Linked DNA regions of Homo sapiens: region 2 is linked to region 1. Evidence: promoter capture Hi-C in human tissues and cell types (Jung and others, 2019). All regions are on one chromosome and are shown on one strand. The core of a region is centred on a gene start or on the middle of the fragment in contact, and the rest is flanking DNA. Distances in the headings are between cores, read along the strand shown. Region 1 holds the start of RANBP17 (RAN binding protein 17). Region 2 overlaps KCNIP1 (potassium voltage-gated channel interacting protein 1).

Region 1 (5,987 bases), core at 1,509-4,008:
GTAAATATGAATTATCAGCAATCATGCATGCACACACCCACACACACACGACAGATAAGTATCTTTAACAACTAAAGGCAATAGAAAAGGCAGAACTTAAGTGGCCACAAATCTTGAAAGAAGGAAAGCACAAGGGGTAAGATTCCAATTTACCTTAGATTCCCCATCTGCTCCTCCCTGTCATCACCCCAAGGCATTTTCCAAGTGGCAGCAAGGAATAACAGCTAAATAGAAAGCAGCAGTCTCAATAGGCTAGGAGCAAAGGCTGGAGTTTCGGAACAAGAGCAACTGAGATTTGAAGGACAAAATTCTAGAAAGAAAGAAACTATAGAGATGTGAGTCCCCAAATTTGTGTCCGTTCCTAAGATATACATGCACATGAAGAGACTCTAAGAAATCCAGCAGAACAACAGCACCTAAAGAGCTCAACAAAGATTTCAGCAGCTACACAGGGCTGAAGAGACAGAGACTAGAGTTCAAGCCCCACAAGGTGGAAGGATCTTGGTAAACATTCCAGGCTTTTGTTTTTTTGAGACAGATTCTTGCTCTGTTGCCTGGCCTGGAGTGCAGTGGTGCAATCACGGCCCACTGCAGCCTATAGCTTCTGGGCCCAAGGGGTCTTCCCACCTCAGCCTCCCGAGTAGCTGGAACTACAGGCACATGCTACTACACCAAGCTAATTTTTTGTATTTCTTGTAGAGATGGGCTTTCACCATGTTGCCCAGGCTGGTCTCAAACTCCTGGATTCAAGCGATCCACCCTCTCTGGCTTTCCAACGTGCTGGGATTATAGTCATGAGCCATCATGCCCAGCCACATTCTAGGCTTTTAGTTGTAAGACCTAGTAAGGACCATGGCCTAGGAGTAAGGTCATAACTGAAGTTAACCAGAATTAAAAAGACTCAATGATCCACTAGTACTCTTGTCTGCCTACCACAAGAAAACTTAGCCCTCCTTGGAGAAACCTGTTATCATCCAGAGCCTCTACAAATTTTCTTCTACATGGTTTGAATTCAACAAGAAATCATGAGATATGTAAAAAAAAAAAAAAAAAAAAAAAAAAAAAAAAGAAAGAAAAAAAAGGGCCAAGGGCCAAGCACCAAAAACCCAGGAAGACTCAGATGATTCAGAAATTGGAGTTAACAGATAAGGGCTTTAAATAATACAGTTAAAATGTTTAAGAAAATAAAGACAAAGAATTTCATCAAAGCCTTGGAATCTATTTTTAAAATGGGAGAGGAGGAGGAACCATGAAAATTTCAACTTTCTAAATGAAAATTCTAGAACTGAAAATATTATAACTAAAACTAAGAATTCAATAGAGGGGATGTATAGCAGCTCAGACACAGCAGAACAGAGTTTCTATGGAATGGACAGCAGGCAAATAAAAAATACAGAATAGAAATAAGGAATATAGCAAAAACTTATAACATACATGTAACTGGAGTTCCAGAATGGAGAGGTAGAGAGAGAGAAGGGGACAGATGCAATATTTAAAGAACTAGTGACCAAGATTTTTCAAAACTTGATAAAAAAGATTACATTCACACTTAAAGAGCTTTATGAATCCCAAGCAGGATAAATACAACACACACACACACACACACTTAGCGACATCAAGCACAAAGTGCTGAAGACAAAAAGAAAAAATAAAAAAAGAGAAAAATGTTCAAGTACCTGAGGAGGGGGCCAAAAGACAGGAGCAACAATTAGACTGATGGCTGATTTCTCAATAGAAACAATGACAAGCAGAAGACAATGAGAAGACATTTTTAAAATGCTGAAAGATTAAAAAAAAAGCCAATGTGAAATTCTATACCCAGCAAAACTATCCTTTAAAAAATGAAGGTGAATTAAGATGATTTTATGTTAACAAAAGCTGAGAGACTTTGTTGTTAGCAGACCTGAATACAAGAAGTGCTTAAGGGAGTTTCCCTCTTAAATACTACAGCACAGTGCTCCCAAATGGAAATGCTGAACTTGAAGAAAAAACGGAGAACATCAGAAAGCAGCAACTTTGACCCAATTCTGCTCCAATAAATTCTCATTGCAGTGGAATCATTTGTTGTAAAATATAAGTTCATATTAAACAAAATGCAGACAAAGAATGAGGTAAAGCTTGAATTTTACAACTTAACAGCATGTAGACATGGGCGGTTTAATTTTAACCAAAATCAAGTTAAAAACATTGTTAAGCAACAATGGAATTTGGGCCCTGGGAGTCAGGGGTCAAGGGCAACAGCTGGCATGTGGGAGTCAAAGGTTATGGCTGTGTGTGTCTGTGGTTCCTGGCTGTTAGGAGACAAGAAAATCTGTGGAGATGCAGGTGTCGGGAGCCATGGGCGATAGTTGTATTTTGAGGGTCAGGGGTCAAGAGAGCCTTTGGAAGACTTATGAGTCAGGGTCCACGGCTGACGGGTGGGTCGTGGTAGTTGTGTCAAAGGGCAGAGGTTGGAGGTCATGACCCACCAACACACGCCGGTTGAAACTTGAGCGCAAGGGACGGTTGAGATTCCCGGAGGACACGCCCCTATCGGCCCCGCCCCGTGCACCGCCTCCGTCGCCCCGCCCCGTCCCTCCCAGCCCCGCCCCGTCCCTCCCAGCCCCGCCCCTCCAGCGCTTCGAATGCGGACGCGAAGCCTGGCTGAGGCTGCGAAGGACGAGCGGCGCAGGGACCCCGCGGGCGTCTGGGGCTTCCGCGGCGCCCGCCTCTGCTCCCTCCCCTCGGGCGCTGGGTGCCGACCGGCCGGCTGGCCGGCGCCGCCTCCTGGGAAGATGGCGCTGCACTTCCAGGTCAGTGTGCTCTGCGCCGCGGGCCCGCGCTCCGCCACGCTGGGAACCCGGCGGGACGCGTCTGGAGACCGAGGGCCGAGGACAGCGGCGGAGGCCGCAGGGCCGTGGGCCGGTGTCCCCGGAGTCCCAGCCCCTGCCTCTGCCCCTAGCCGGGGACCGGGACACTGGTCTGGGCTGCACACCCCAGGCCCGGGCCGGAGCCCGAGAAAGGGGCGGCCGAGCCTGGGTTGGAGGCGGCGGGTGGAGGGGGCGGGGGACAGGCCCAGGGCTCGTCCCGGGGAAGGTGCGGACGCCGGCAGCACGCTCGCTGACCGCGGCTTTAGTGTTGCCAGGGCAGGTGGGAGTCCCAGCTGGGCCGGCTTTGGCGCGCCTCGCGCGGCTGCCGAGCGGTGGAGCAGCCTTCCCGCCTTCCCGCCGCGTCGCCGGCGCGGCTCTATCGTCAGCCTCCCTCCACACAGTTGAGCCCCAGCCGGAGCGGGGGCTTGGGATCCACCGAAGGAGCGGCGGCAGCGGTTGGACTTTAATTGGCCAGAGGAGACAGGGGCTGCGTCTGGGGGGAGTTGCGAGGGAGGGCTACGCGGCCGCCTCTTCGGAGGAGGAAACCCGGGCCGGGCGCGGGCGCGGGCGCGGACGCGAGGATCGCAGAGGCTACGAAGATGGGACGCGTGCTTGTATATCCTCGGGCTGCTCTGACATCCCCGTTCAGTTATTCAGCAAACATTTATTATCTCCCCACTGTGTCTCAAGCATTGTGGAAAGTTCTGGGGATAAAGGATGACATCTTACTATCCTCGCCCTCATACAGTTAACAGAGAATTACAGTACAAGTGAAAAATGTATGGTAGAAATAGTCACAGTATCATAGCACAGAAAAGGGGGTAGCCAGCCAAATGTGTATGTTGAGAAGGAGTGAAGCAGAGCTGCTATGCTCTTAGCTGAGAGATGCTTTAAGATTCTTTGAGCCTCCATTCTTCCATTTATTAATTATTGAGCGCCTACTATGCTAGGCGCTGAAGATACAACAGCTCTGAACAAAACTATGGTTTCTACTCTCAGGGAACTTGCAGTCTACTGGTCCTTGAAAGAGTCGTAGTTGTTTGCCAGGTGAAGAGGAAGGGAAGGATATGGAGGTAGAAGGACGTGTGAGCCAAGGCAAAGAATTGTGGAAGAACATGGTGTACTGCAGAAAGTTGAGTCTGGTTGGGACAAAGGGATGGGATCAGGGGAGGCAGTGGGTGGCAGGAGATGACCCCAGGGAGGGAAGGGAATTTCATAATATGGTGACAGTGTATCTAAGAATCTCATTCCCCTTGTAGACTCTTTTGAACCCCCTGTGATCACACTGATTTATAACTTGGCTGATTTATTGATTCTTCTAAAGGGTCTTTTTTTTAAAACCAGTTACTGTCTGATAATCGACAGTTCTAGAATGTTATGTAGTAAGCCCGACACATTACCTTTTGACTTCATGCCATTTCTAAGGGTCCTCAGGTCAAAATAATGTATTACCACTTTAGTAAATATGCCCTCTGGGAAATTTTCACAGGAAGAATCTTACAAGGAGGATTTATGGATTGTAAATAGGTAATCAGATGTTCACAGAGCCCGAGTAAATCTTGAGAGTAAATTAAAAGGTATGGTGGAACTTTGGAATTTTTTCATACATGGAAAGGTGATGTACAGTTAAATCACCAAGCCCTGGAAGACTTCTTCATATTTAGGCACAGTGTTGGAAAAGTTAGCTGCTGATGTCAAAACTACCCATATTGGTTTTGCAGGAATGTACTTCACAGTACATTCCAACATAAGTACTTCACAGTACATTCCTGTAGACAGCTTAAAAGCGGAGTTGGACAAATAAAAGATCAGACAGTTTTGTTGACTAGAAAAAAACTGAAATTTCTCCGTTTGAATTCTTTTTAGCATATAGGATCATATTGTTAATCAGTTAACTCAAGGAACATTTGTTAATAGTGATAACCAGTACCTAGCATTTTGAGTTTTCATATCCTCATTATAGAGGTGAGCCCTGCCACTAACTTAAAAAGTGTGCATATATACGTTTCATTCTGAAGACACTGAGTCTTAAAACAGTTGTGACTTGCCCAACGTTACAGAGTTAGAGTAGGCCTCATAACTCATAAGTTCCGTGTTCCCCATTACCTCTGTCTTACTGTCACCTACCCAAAAGGGCAGCTAGGCAAAAATTATACCATCAAGATGATGAGTAAAGAAGCAGATTTGTGTAGGGTGAGGTTAGGGTAGTGGTCAACATCTTTTTCACATCATGACATACATAAAAAATGTTAATTGTGTGTCTCATTAACATAAACCGCTCATTGCCAAAGGCCATCAGTGTGCACTTTCCCCAATGTCTCAAGCTCTGCTCCTAATGCTTGGAGGGCAGAGGGATCAATATCTCAGGCATACCTGTGAATCATTCAAAGCAGTTGCATTCTGGTTAGGAAGCTGTGAATTACGATACCCTGTCCCAAAGGAATTAATGGGTCTGGATTCCCTGACAGGCAATCCAGATAAGGGGGCAGAGTGAGGAAAAAGAATTGAGAAGAAGTAAGAGGTAGGCACTTTAGGTAGAACAGAGGTACCTTGGTAAGAATCGAGAGAATGTTAGGAAAAATTTAAGGGACTCAGTTGATCCAACTTTTTTGCTCAGGACTGTTTAAGAAGCAGGAAATATAGCCATGCTTCTTAATCTCCAGTCAAGCTACCTGATTTGATCTAGATGTGATTGAGAACTATTATTTTTAAATGCAATTATAACATGAGAAAAGGTATGTGGGAATGACCATTCTGGCAGTGTGGACTTGAATGGGAGAAACTATGGAAGATCCGTATGGTCTTTTATATTCACCAGTAACTGGAGAGATTATTTATGATTTATTGTGGATCTTCTGTATGGCAGGCACTGGATTAGGCTTTCCCCATCTTTTCTATCTTCATTCTACAATTAGTTTGGAAGGTAGATATTGCTGTTTGCAGGTTTGTTGTTGTTGTTGTTGTCGTTTGTTTTTTGAGACAGAATCTTGCTCGCCCAGGCTGGAGTGCAGTGGTGGAATCTCGGCTAACTGCAGCCTCTGCCTCCCGGGTTCCAGTGATTCTCTTGCCTCAGCCTCCTGGGTAGCTGGGATTACAGTTGCAAGCCACCATGCCCTGCTAATTTTTGTATTTTTAGTA
Region 2 (5,987 bases), core at 1,768-4,267, 130 kb before region 1:
TTTGTTGAAGGTTGGTGGAAAGTGGTTTTTCATACATAGTTGCTGAAAGTGTTCTGATAATAAACTTTCTAAAAGGTATTTGAGGAATATGTATCAAAAGCATTGAAAGTTATGCATCCCATTCTCCTTATAAAACCACACCTTGGTATATGTCCCAAGGAAATAAAGAATAGACACAAAGACTTAAAAGCAAGAAGAGTCTTCAGGTAATAGTGCCCCAGAATGTGATAGCCATGATATCCACTAACAGCAGATTTGTAAAATGAATTACAGTAAATACATATAATGGAATAGCCAGTGGCCACTTAAAATCATGAAAGAGTAATATAAAATAAACATTAGTATGATATATTAAATTTTTAAATATATTACATTTTAAATTGATAAAGTGGTATGTATGATATCTCAATTTTATAAACAACTAAATGCTTATATACACATGCAAATATATGATACTCTAAAATATTCAAATACTACCTTGCAAAACATATAAAGAAAAAAATACAGAAATAGGATTTAGTTGGTCTTCAACTTTGGTTCACTCATTATTCCATCACTGAATAAACTTACTAGTGCCTACTCCCTTTTTGTAATTTGCAAACTAGGCAGAATTCTCCCCATTAATCTATCAGACCTCTCTGGAGGGCAGAGTTAATAAAGTACCCCTTAAAAGAAAAAGAAAGTGTGGATAAGTAGCTTCTCAGAAAAGATAGCAGGATCTTCCCCTGGCAATCATTTGGAGATAACCTCATCCAAGTTGTAGGCTATGAAAATCCTGAGAGAGCAACAAAATTGCTCTTTCTGTGATTAAAAAAAAATATCAGACAGGAAAAGCATCAATGGCCATGTAGATGTGAAGGGCTTGTAAAGCACACATTTAAAAATAAACACATGGATAGAGACATCTATTTCCTCGTTCTATCTGTTGAGGGCACCTCAGAGCAATGACATCCCTGTAGCAGTGAGCATACTAGTACCTAGACTTTGATTTCTAAATACCATTCTTCGATAAACAGAACCAGTCTTCTTGAAGAATAGTTGATTCTAAGATTGGGAAAGAGAAAATACAAGATGAGCCTGGAGTACTTTATTATGCTGAAGGTATAAAAGTGCTTAAAAAAAAAAAACTGCAGGAGTCAACCTGAAGGAGTTCCCAATAGTCAGAATGAAAGCAATTTGAGCAAAATTAAAAATTATTAAGTACTGGATTATAACCTGTAAAATATGGTAAATGCCCACAAGTCCATGCTAATGTAAATAAACAACTGAATACATAAATAAATGCAGGAGAGAAGGTAGCTCTTCCTTACAGAAGAATTGTAATTAATAAGTATAGAAGGAATAAAGGAAATACAAAATTACCATCAGGCAAACACTACAGTAATAATTTTTGCAGGCAAGATCCACTGAAAGATACTAAATCAGTAAGGAAACTTGACAGACACCACCTTAATCAAGTGATCAAGGTTAACATTATCAGTAATAAGACATCTCAACACTATGTAACTCCCTGATATGACGCACTGAGAAGGTTATACCATCACTTCTGTGGTATTCTTGCCAGAAATGCATAACTTCAATCTAATCATAACTAAACCAGGGATTAACTCAAATTGAGAGACATTCTACAAAACAACTGACCTGTACTCATATCAAAAGTGTGAGGTCCTGAAAGACAAGGAAACAAAGAAACTCAGGCTGGGCATGGTGGCTCATGCCTATAATCCCAGCACTTTGGGAGGCAGAGGCAGGAAGATCACTTGAGTCCAAGAGTTTGAGACCAGCCTGGGCAACATGGCAAAACCCCATCTCTACAAAAAATTAGCCAGGTGTGGTGGCACTTGCCTGTAGTCCCAGCTACTTGAGAGGCTGAGGCGGGAGGATCACTTGAACCCGGGAGGTCGAGGCTGCAGTGACGGGGATTGTGCCACTGCACTCCAGCCTGGGTGACAGAGCAAGAACCTGTCTCAAAAAAAAAAAAAAAGAAAAAAGAAAAAAAGAATGAGAAACTCATACAGATTAGAAGAGACTAAGGAGACACAACAAATAAATGCAATGTAGAATCATTGAAGGGAAAAAAATATTAGTTGAAAAGCTGAGATCCCGCCACTGCACTCCAGCCTGGGCCACAGAGCGAGACTCCGTCTCAAAAAAAAAAAAAAAAAAAAAAAAAAAAAAGAAAAGCTGATAAAATTTGAATAAGCCCTGTAGTTTAGTTAATAATAGTGAAGCCATGTTAATTTCCTGGGTTTGGTCATTGTGCTCTGGTTATGCAAGTTGTTAACATTAGAGGAGACTGAGTGAAAGGTATGCATGAACTCTCTGTACTAATTTTGTAAATTTTCTGTAAGTCTAAAATTATTCATAATATGCAAAAATTAAACAAAAAATAAAATAAAATAAGCACATGGAATGAGACTGTCCCCTGGGTCTCTGTAGAAACCAGGTCAAACATCCCAAATGCTCTTTTACCCCCATTCTGAGTTGGGCCAGAATGGTCAGAATAATGGTTCCCAATGTACCTTGATAAACACGGAAACTCTCAGGACCGAGTCCTAAGGTTCTCTGATTCAATAGGTTTGGAGTGGACTTGAGAACTGATCTTTTTAATAAGGGCCTCAGTCTGTGGAACTATTGGCCTCATGTGCCCTGTGGATAATCTTGGCTGTTGGTTCATTTTTCTTAACTGAAAACAGTGGCAGAAACTATGGGGATTTTTAAATCTCTAGGCTAGAACATTAACTTTTTAAAAATTCAGAATAGTATTTTATTTGCCTCAAGCCTGTGAATGGGGATCCCACAAATCACCCCCCACTGAAGACAATGCCCATAACAAGGTAACCTACCCATGAGCTTCTGAGGGATTTAGGAATTGTCTACCATCTCCTCTCTAAGAAGGGCTCCCACAATATATCCCCTTCTGCTTGCTTCTAACTCCCTATCACCTGCTAAAGAAGGACCTCACCTTTTAATCACTTTCATTGCCAAGGGGCACAAGGAGCCCCAAACTCTGTCACCTAGGAAGAGCTTGACCTCATGGTTTCCACACTGTGTGCTTTTATGTCCCTGCTCCAGGAGATGATGGACATTGTCAAAGCCATCTATGACATGATGGGGAAATACACATATCCTGTGCTCAAAGAGGACACTCCAAGGCAGCATGTGGACGTCTTCTTCCAGGTAAGTGCACACACCCTGCACATGAGCTGTAAGCCCAGCCTAGATCAAGTCAACCCACGAGCATCTGAGCAAATGATTTGTGTCCAACCCTGTACTAAGCATGGTTGGTAACAGAAAAGAATTATAAGATACATTGTCCTCAAGAAACAGATGATCTCCTTAAGCTGCAAGTGTACATGACAGAAGAGAACAAGAAAGTATATTATTAAACGCTAGTGGTATAGTATGAACTCTAAATCCATAAAAATTTGGGGATCAGGGTAAACACGAAAGACTTCATTAATTACAACTGTGGAGGTGTTAAGCATTTGTGTCTGGGAAGTAAGGGGAAATAAGATTGGAAACTAGGATAGGGCCAGATTATGAGACCTTTAAATGGAAGAGTTTGGCCTTGCTCTGGTACAGGATGGGCAGCTAGTGCTGATCCTTGACTAAGGGAGTGGTATAATCATTGGGGCATTTTAGGAAAAAATTAATCTAGCGGTGGAGTATCAGAGAATATCAAGAGTTCACTCTAGTTCAACCTCCCACTTTGCAGATGGGAAAAGAGAGTCCTCTCTGGCCTTGTGCAAGTTTGTACAGCAAGTAACAGGCCAGAATCAGAACCTCTTTTGCCCAGTGTTCTGCCAGATGGACAGGGTAGCAGGGAGTCTACAGAAGAAGCAGAATAAGCCAGCAGTGAGGTGATGAGTGTCCAGAGCAAGTCTTTTGATTTAAGGAAGCTCATGGGGCTCAAAGTGTTGTAATCAGGACCTAATTGGAGTTGTCTGGCCAGTGAAAGACAACTCTCATTCTCAGGGCAAAGTTGGTTAATGAAATGAATGAAATGAGCTCCAGCTCGTTACTCTGAGCTCCAGCAAGAAAGCAGGGGAGTAAGCTTTGGAATGGAGATCACCAGATTCTGTAAAGTGCTTTCTGTTATGTCTTTCAGAAAATGGACAAAAATAAAGATGGCATCGTAACTTTAGATGAATTTCTTGAATCATGTCAGGAGGTAAGGAGAGATCTCAGGGCACAATAACTCTACATCTGGGAAAGGAAACCTGGGGCCTGGGGACCTGCAGAAGGAAGGTGATGAGAAACCTGCACATACCTGCAACCCCTCCCATCAGAGCCAACAACACCAGCAACAACTGTGAAGTCCACAGTTCCACTCCTCAACCTGACCTGCAGTTGGTCTTGGCTAAGCACAAGACTGAACAGAGAGCCTAAGTAGGGGTCTGGGGGCATGTGAAAACTCAGAGGGGGTCTCTGTGAAAATAGACTTCCCGAGAGGGCAACACCATTATTTTTTAGCCTGCCTCTGGCTTGATGACCCATTTCCCAGACTACAAGGAAGCAGCTGGGGGGAAAAAAACCTACAATTGTGTGATTCTCAAACCACAGTGTGCATAAAAATTGCCTGGAATGATTCTGAAAATGCATATTTCCAGGCCTCAATCCCAGAGACTCTAGATCTGGGTCACTTTAACACAAATGTCCTGGACCAATGCTTCTAACACTTTAATGTGTGAAACAATATCCTTGATGATTTTGTTAAAATGCAGATTCTAATTCCATAGGTCTGGGGTAGGGCCTGAGATGTTACTTTTCTCACATTCTCCCCAGTCACACTGGTGATGCTGATCCTGGGAACACAACTTTCATTAAGTCTAACCAATAGACCAGCCCCAGAGTCCACCAGAGACTGAACTGGAAATAATTGCTTCATCTACTTTTGAGAAATCCATTTGTACCCCCACATTATTTTAGAAATGTTCAGAGTTACTCTGAGCTCCAGCCAAGAAGAATAGCAAATGTAAGAAAGCCGGGGAGAAGTTCCTAGCAGATACTGAGCCCCCATCAAGTTTCAAGCACATACATAAACATCACAGCCACCCTGTTATGTAGATGTCCTATGTGCAGGGTGATATCCAAGATATTTAACAACTAGAATGGAATGAACACTGACCCCCTTGGGGGTGAGTTCTCACTGTTAATTCCCTTGAGAGCTGGTTGTAAAACAGCCTGGCACCTTCCCCACCTCCAACCTTGATTCCTCTCCCACCATGGGATCTCTGCACACCCAGCTTCCCTTCACATTCCACTGTGAGTGGAAGCAGCCTGAAACCCTCACCAGATGCAGATGCCCAGCTGAACTTTCCAGCTGCCAGAATAATGAGCCAAATAAGCCTATACTGACATTAACCTTTTCATTTCTGATATTGATAATTTGAAAAGCAGTCTTAATAAGCATTTATCTACTTTATTGATTTTTTTGAAAGAGAGCGCTTTGGGGGGTTTTCTTACTGTATGTCTCTATTGCATGTTCTGTATTTTACATTTTTCTATTATTTCTTCTCTGAGGTATAGTATTGAATGTAGAAAAATCCTCAAATGTTCGGTATTAAGCAATACACTTCTAATTCATGGTTCAGAGAAGAAAATATCTCGAATAAAAATAAAATAAAAATATGACTTATCAAAATTTGTAGGATCTAAAGCAGTATTCCAGGAATGCAAGGTTGGTTTAACATTCAATAATTGGTCAGTGTAATTAATCACATTAATAGAATAAAAAGAGAAAAAATATAATCATTTCAGTGGATGTAATTGTTCAGAGCTTCTTAAAAGAAGCAACTCACTATTTTACTAGATGATTTGTTTCTTCTGAATTCCTCTTTAAGGCTACAGGTGGTGCTTCTTACTTTGAACTGATCACTTTCTAGGTCCCCACCCTTACTTCTTGTTTTTCATACCCTTGTAGAGTTTTCTCCATATAGGAAACCCATGCTTGACATTTGCTCACCAGAGTTACAGAGCTCTCA

The links. The method cuts DNA at HindIII sites, captures the fragments that hold promoters and counts their contacts. A contact is called where the count stands out against the background at its distance.
Region 2: a fragment that was not itself captured here is called in contact with the fragment with the promoter of RANBP17 in region 1 in 1 of the 25 tissues and cell types used here (mesendoderm cells).

Annotation. Positions count from the first base shown.
Region 1 is chr5:170,859,260-170,865,246 of GRCh38, forward strand. It overlaps RANBP17 (RAN binding protein 17), which reads left to right and starts at 2,759. Exons shown (of 28, transcript NM_022897.5): 1 at 2,759-2,792. The coding sequence starts at 2,775. The HindIII fragment of the contact is 7,494 bases long and covers 2-5,987 here.
Region 2 is chr5:170,729,725-170,735,711 of GRCh38, forward strand. KCNIP1 (potassium voltage-gated channel interacting protein 1) reads left to right here. Exons shown (of 8, transcript NM_014592.4): 6 at 3,076-3,180; 7 at 4,112-4,174. Among named protein-coding and RNA genes, the nearest start is that of GABRP, 51 kb to the right of the region's middle. The HindIII fragment of the contact is 4,401 bases long and covers 818-5,218 here.